Regions from separate parts of the Homo sapiens genome. Here region 1 is linked to region 2. The links are contacts of gene promoters, found by promoter capture Hi-C in human tissues and cell types (Jung and others, 2019). All regions are on one chromosome and are shown on one strand. Each heading gives the region's core, a stretch centred on a gene start or on the middle of the fragment in contact. The rest is flanking DNA. Distances are from core to core; before and after follow the strand shown.

What was found. The method cuts DNA at HindIII sites, captures the fragments that hold promoters and counts their contacts. A contact is called where the count stands out against the background at its distance.
Region 1: a contact is called between a fragment that was not itself captured here and the fragment with the promoter of NDRG1 in region 2, in 3 of the 25 tissues and cell types used here (bladder, hippocampus and mesenchymal stem cells).

Annotation. Positions count from the first base shown.
Region 1 is chr8:132,781,581-132,785,517 of GRCh38, forward strand. All of the region lies in intron 2 of PHF20L1 (PHD finger protein 20 like 1), which reads left to right. Among named protein-coding and RNA genes, the nearest start is that of PHF20L1, 8.2 kb to the left of the region's middle. The HindIII fragment of the contact is 4,511 bases long and covers 181-3,937 here.
Region 2 is chr8:133,295,643-133,299,167 of GRCh38, forward strand. It overlaps NDRG1 (N-myc downstream regulated 1), which reads right to left and starts at 1,610. Exons shown (of 16, transcript NM_006096.4): 1 at 1,492-1,610. RefSeq lists a silencer at 1,491-1,940. The HindIII fragment of the contact is 13,971 bases long and covers 1-3,525 here.

The DNA.
Region 1 (3,937 bases), core at 1,186-3,685, 510 kb before region 2:
ACCATGCCCAGCTAATTTTTTTTTGTATTTTTAGTAGAGATGGGGTTTCGCCATGTTGTCTGGGATAGTCTCCATCTCTTGACCTTGTGATGTGCCTGCCTCAGTCCCCCACAGTGCTGGGATTACAGGCGTGAGCCACTGCGCCAGGCCTAAAGTAGTGATTTATTTTTATTTTCAAAGTAACTTTATAGCTACATAAGAACACTCATTGGTGGTTTATTTATCAGTACTAATGGACACAGGCCCTGAGAAGCCATCAAGAGGTCAGTCATCTTAGTCCCAGTATTTGCTTTTTGATAATTGGATCTCTCCTACACTGACCAAACATAACTCCTGAGTAGTGTGGGCTGTTTTAATTTTTAAAAATATTATAGCTTTACAATATTTTAAAAACATTTTCTTTTAACTTTTTCAATCATCTGCATAAAGACTTTGACGTGCTAATGTTTACAGCTAGCACAGTCAACTATTTTTTATCTTATTTTCATGTTTTTCACCACAAACTCTGTGCATCCAAACCTTGATATTCAGTTTTATAATCTCTGGAAGGTAGTAACATCATAAGAATAAAAATGAGTATAGGTGTGTTGATACAGAAGTATATTTGGGGAAGGAGAAAGTTGAGAGTTGAAGTTATATTGGAGACACTGTAAGCGGGTGGGTTTAAATTCAGACTGTTACTTATTAATCCTGTAAATATGGGTAAGTCCTTTAACTTGGTTTTCTTAGCAGTAAAATGGAAGCAGTATTACTGGCTTTTATTTAGAGGTTGGTTTTTAAGGTTCAAATAAAATTATGTATTGCTTTAAGTTCTACAGATGGGTACATAATCATAAAGCATTGAGGTAAATGCAAGGGGAGAGGGAGAATAGAAAAGTAAATCTTTGGGGATCTGAAGAGTTAAGTGATTGAGTTTTTAAAGGTAGCTTTAGTTGACAGGAGAGTGGCTTGGAATCATAGAAGGCAAAACATCTCATTGCAACAAGCTGATGACACTTTTTTCTTTTTCCTTTTTTTTTTGAGACAAAGTTTTACTGTCACCCAGGCTGCAGTGCAGTCACGAGATCATGACTTGAAGCAGCCTGCAGCCTTTACCTCCCGGGGCTCAAGCCATCCTCCTGCTTCAACCTCCCAAGTAGCTGGGACTACAGGCGTATGCCATAGTAACCTGCTGATTTTCTTTTTCTTTTTCTTTTTTTTTTTTTGGTAGAGAAAGCGATCTCTCTGTGTTGCCCAGGCTGGTCTTGAACTCATGGGCTCAAGCAGTTTTTCCATCTGTCTTGTTCTTCCAAAGTTGTAGACAGTCTTTTTGAAGTGATAATAAAATCCTCATGTTTCCACAGAGTTTTATAGAGTTTGCTTGCAAATATTAAAGTATCTAATCATTCTGAATATAGTTTAGTAAGAAAACTGATAAAATCACACTGGCGTTGACTACTGATTTAACTCCTGTTTTTTGATTGAAATTAAAATAGTTATTCTACAGTAAGCGATTGTTACAAAAACACAAGAGATTAAATAACATGCTGTGGTGTTAATCTTAAAATAAATTTGAAATATAGAGTCAATTTAAAACATTCAGATGAGATATGCTCCTCTGACTCTTTTGGAATATTTCTATTTAATTCTCTTCTAAATCTAAAGAAAAGGAAAATGAAAGATTAAAAAATGTGGAGATATCTCCAAGTATCAGAGTTTAATAGAACAGTATAAATTTGAATTGGCAAATGCTGTTTTCACACATTTGAAGTTTTTTGAACTGTATGGAACATTTGCAAATGTGAGTTTTTAAGATGTTCGTGCAGAATTTTAATAGTATAGGAGAATTAAGGAAATTTACATTGTAGCAAGTACAAATACTTGTTAATTTAAATAAAATTATACATTTTCTGAATAAAAAGTTACTTTTTTTCTAATTAGATTTAACTATTCAAAGGAAAATGCTACTAGAGATAAGTTGTGTCATCTATATTTAGAGTAGGAGAATGGTCCTAAAGTGTAACATGTAGATCAAATATAGCATTGTAGGAACACCAGGTGAATACTTCAAAAATAGAGGTTCTTTTGCTAATATTAATATGCATGCAGTTTTTGTCTTTTCATAATTTGGGATTCTTTCAGTTTGTCTATACATAGAAAGTAATGATTATTATTTTGAGTCATTACCTTTGAAAACCAATGCCAGCTGTAGACTTAGAAAAAATATACAGTTGTATGTATACATCAAAATAAATGAATTACATACTATGGTCATAAGTTCATAGAAAACGTATACATGACCTCTAGGTTAAGGACCCTTCTTGCAGACAATTCATTTGAAATCTGTAAGTTTTGTTTAAAAATTCTGAGATAATTTACATTTAGATAGTCACAAATTTTGAATCTTAAGGTCAAAGTGAATCATCCAGTTTAATTATCAAGCAGATTTGTACCAGTGCACAAACATTTTACTTCTTTAACTTTTAAAATTTCCACAAAAGAAAGCCCCGTAAATTCCTTTGAACAATGCTAAATATAAGAAAGCTTCCCTCTACCCCTCCAAAAATGTGAAAAGCATGATTTAGGGACAGAGAAGACTTATTTATTTGAAAACACACCTGGTTTCGGGTTGTTCTTGCTCTAGTGTTCTTCCTTTTTTTATGTTAATTCGTTTTTTATAGAACTCTTTCTGGTTTATAAGCTTTTTCTGCTTATCCTAGTTTTTTTGAAAAACAAAAGTATTGGAAAAAATAAATTAAACTGGAAGTCATAAAATATGGATTTTAAGTGCTATTTTGCCATGAACTATGTGATTTTGGAGAGGTATTTCTCTGCTTTAATGACCTTGAAATGAAAGTCTTACAGTTTAGATGATCTTTCAGGTGCAGTTGAATTCCAAACTCAATTTCATTTTATCAATTTTCACCTATTCAGGGATGACAGATTTTTTTTTTTAAATCATACTTTTAGATGGGTAAATAACACAAACTTGAGGCAGAGGTAAGATAGACAAAAAGTCATAGGTAGTTCAAAACTGCTGGCTACTAGAGGAGAAAATGAGAAAAATGTAGAAAACTGAATATAATTTGGAAAAAATATAGAGGTTTGAGCTATTTGGAATATAACTATATTGGGCATGAAACCTTTTGGCTCCCAATATAGTGATCTCTCCACTATAACCCATTGTCTTGCATAGATTTCCTAAAGCTTTGCGCCTCAGTTAACTAAATGGGCTCAGTGTTCACGGGCCACCGTAGTTTCTGACCAATTGTAGTTGTGAGTATATGTCTGGCATCTAGAAGGGCCCTGAAAGTCTGGCAAGCCTATGCCACTCTTTTTCATTGGAATTAGAGAGCTTGAGCAAGGTAGGTAAATTTCAAGTTTATCCATCCTAGAGAGCTTTCCTCCTAAATTTACTTCATAATCAAACCTCCAAGCTGATGATTTCTTAGCCTCCTTCATCAATTTATAATGAGGGTAAAGTCCAGGAATCTCAGGCTTACTGTGCTGTGCTTTATGTGTGTGTGATCGTATAGTGGCAAGGGTTGGAACAAGAGAAAAGACCGTTTTATTTGCTTATCTGACATTTGGTTGAAGTCCAGCCATCACGTATCACACACATCCAGCTCCCTATTTGTTACATCATTCCTGCCGAATGTTATTATGTATTATGAGATTTCACACTGTCACATCACATTAGATAATGGTTTATTTTTTAGTTGGGGGTTGATGAAAGCCACTAGCTGGGAAACAGTTTATCTGTTGTGGTAGTTAACTCTACTAAAAAGAATGTTTTGCAATTCTAGTTTTGCTGAGTAGACAGAAATGGCATCTGCAGATGCTTCTGTTTTTAATTTTGGTTTTAAGTGATTTCTTTTAAGCTGAGGGAGAAAATACTAGTTTTAATTTTAAGTTTTGAATATCAGTAGTACAATTTTTAAAAGAAATTAACGGAATA
Region 2 (3,525 bases), core at 360-2,859:
ACAGGAAGAGTCTAGACTGAAAAATTCGCCTTGAAACTACATTTCTGCAGCAAGAACAGGGGGTTTGTATTTAGATATGTTCTTTTGAGGCAGCTTAGGAGAAGGTCCCGTGCAGCTGATGGGTATTATAAGGATGTCTACCGCCCTCCTGCCTGGCCACTGGCTGACTTCTGAATATTAGATATTTCCCAGTAGCTTAAAGAAACCAAACAAACTGAAGTGCCCCCAGCGTCCGTGAGGAAGGGGTGTTCTTGGATGGGCATAAGATAACCAAGGGCCCTGCCTCCCCCACCCACTGCCAGGCATCTCCCACTTCCAAGCCACAGAGGCGTGCTGTTCAGGACCCCCAGGGACAGCAGGGACAACAGGCGGGGGATATGGGGGAGGGGTGGGTAAGGAACCGACCCACTAAATCCCAGCTCCAGCTACTAATTTGACAGAGGCGTGACAGCGTGTTTCCCCCAGAACCAGCCGCATTCCCCAAGCCCAGCCCGAAATCTCCTCCCGAGGCTGAATCAGAGACCGCGGCGGATCCCCCAGGAACGTCGAAGTAATTCCAGCTGTTTTCCCCCGTGGAGGGCAGGAGCGGCCAGCACCAGAGGCAGGGGAGGGGAGGAAAGCGGGGGAGGGTGGGCGGAGGCGAAAATGACGCCACTCCTAGCTCCAGCCAGCTCAAGGGGCCGCCAAATGTCCGCGAGACCCCTCTCGCCCAGGTCACTTCTCCCACGCCGCCGATGCGCCAATCCCGGGTTCCTCCGGGGGCGCACCCTGCCCAGTGGCGCTCGCAGACACTTGCTCCGGCTCGCGTGTTGCACTGTGACACACCCTGGACCCTCCCCCCACACACACGCTTACACTCACACATGCACACCGCCCTGTGTGTGCTACGGGACTGAAGCGCCACCAGCCTCTCGGATCCACACCCGTTCCCGACCCAGTCTGCAAGCCAGACACACCCACGCCCCCCTCTCCAGCCTCCTTGCCAGCGCCACTCACCTCTACCAACCCCTCATCTACACACTCGCGCGCAATCTCTCCGTTCCCAGACACAGACACACACACACACACACACACACACACACACACACACTCACCTAGTCCCTTCTGCACCCACGTCCAGCGCGCACCCCTGCCAGCGGCGCCAGCTGGGATTCGGAGACGACGCCAGGAAACGCTATCCTGGTATTTTTTCGGACCGTCTCATCGCCCCCTTCCCGACCTCCAGAACCCCAATCCCCAGCTAGGGGGGAGATGAATGGGACCCTGTCTTTTTTTCCTCCCTTTCCGTAATTGAACCCCCCACTTCAGCGGTGTCTGCACCCAAAGCCCCCTCGCGCCCGCGCCCCGGGGTGACCGCGCACTTGCAGCTCCGGGGCGCTTACTCCTGGAGTACGCGGGGCTACAAAGGGCGGTCCTGGCGCTCCAGCGGCACCGCACGGGCGGCCCCTTTCTGCTCCGCGTCGCGCCTGGGAGAAGAGGGCGCGGGCTTACCTAACGCGAGGGAGAAAGGAAAGGACGGTGCCGAGGCTGGCGGCCCAGCGCCCCGCGGAAGCCGAGGGCGGATGGTGAACTGACGAGCTTCAGCACCAGCTGGGAGCCAGGCGAGGTTTGTTTACGTCCGGGCGGAGGGCGACTTTATAGGCGCCGCGGCCCCGCCCCCGCGCCTCGCCCCTCCCAGACCCTCGCAGTCCCAGCACGCAGCCGGGACACACCCCTTCCCCGCTCCCTGCTCCCTCCTCCCGGGCGCGCCGGGCTGGGCTGGGCTCCGGCAGCGCGCGGCGGGCGCCCACTGGAGCCGCCGCCTGTTGCGCAAGCAGTCGTAGGGGCGCGGCCGGGAGGGGCATCGGGGCCCGGGTTGTGGGTCGGCTCTGCAGTCCCCTCCGAGTCCAGGGCCTCGGCCTGTGCAGCGGGCGCGTGTGCCCTGCCCGGAGGAGGCGTTTGTGTGCTTGTGCGTGTTCATGTGCGCGCTCGTGCGTGTGCATGTGGACTTCCTTGTGTCTCCGTATGGGCGGAGGCCCCCCATCTCTGCCTCAGAGTTTCTTCTAAGAGTCTCGTTGCGCCACGCCCTGAGCGACTCCCTTCACTTCCTGTAGGTCTCACCAGCTCGGCTCTCCAGCCGGATTCGGCTGCCTGCCCAGCAGCCGCCTTCGCTTTCGCCCGACAGGCTCCCTCCGATTCTCAGCCTTCCGTGTCGCCAAAGCTCTCGCTGAAATCCTCGCTCCCGTTTAATCTCGTCCATCTTGCCCACCGCCGCCCAGCGCTTACCCTTCCCCTCATCTTCCCAGTTCTAAGCACACTCACTGGACCTTGCCCACTGGGCTCTTCTCTCCTGCCCCACAAGCCCAGATGAGAGGATTCTCACCCCTTCCTATTCTGATTTCCTGAACTTTCATGACTCACCCTTTCCAACCTTAGCACCGTCCTGCTCTGCTGCTCTGTTTGTGCGTAACTATTGGCCTGCATGTTCCCATCTGGCCAAAGAAACCAGCAATTCTCAACCCCTACTGCATATGAGAAGTCCCAGAGGAGCCGCCAAATTAAAAAATAAATAAATAGATAGATAATAAAAAGAGAGAGATGGACTCCAGAACAGTTTAATCAGAATCTCAGGGGGTGCAAACCAACTGGGCATTGGGGTTTTTACAAAGCTACCCAGGTGGCTCCTGACGTGCAGCCAGGTTGAGAAGCACTGCATGGAGGAACATGATTTTATGAATAAAGGAAGTCTGACTCACAGCTGGCACCGTCATTGTCCTCAGGCCACCTGCCCAGCGTTGAATTTGCCACTGAGCCCAGGACCAGACCCAGGGCAAGCTCAGGTGACCCTCCCTGCGCCTCCACAGACACACACGCGCGCACGCACAACACTTCCTGCTGAATTGTAAACCTCTTTTCTGTGCCAACCCATGCTGTCCCCAAGGCAGGGGCCATGGCTTTCCCCTCTGATTATTAGGGCCAGTTTTGGAGAAGGGTTTTCTGGAACAAAAGAAATATGGAGAGGGGCAAACAGCACCTCTAGGACCCAGGACATCTGTGTTTCAGGCCTGTCTTTGACACTATCGATCACAAATCAACAAATCTGGGCTTCAGAATTCTCACTGGCAAAGGGAGAGGATTAGATTCAATGATCTTTCAGAACCTATCTAGTGCTAAAGCTCTGTTATTCTATTACAAATGACCAGTGTGAAGAACAGAGTTCCAGTGTCATGGGTTTTGCTGCTAGAAGAGTTTGGCTAAACTACAAAGTTTGGCTATTAGCTATGAAGTTTGGCTAAACTACAAAGTTTGGCTACATTCAAGAATGCCTTGAATGTAGGAGCACATTCCCCCACCCTAGAAAATTTAACATCTAGAATTAATAAGTGAATGAATGACCACTGGGCAGTCTTCCATTCTTTATGGATTTGAACTAGTTCAACTGCAGCATTCCCAGTGAGGGAAAATTTTTCTTATTTCAAATAAAATGTTGTGTCCAGGTAGAGTGGCTTACACCTGTAATCCCAGCACTTTGGGAGGCCAATGCAG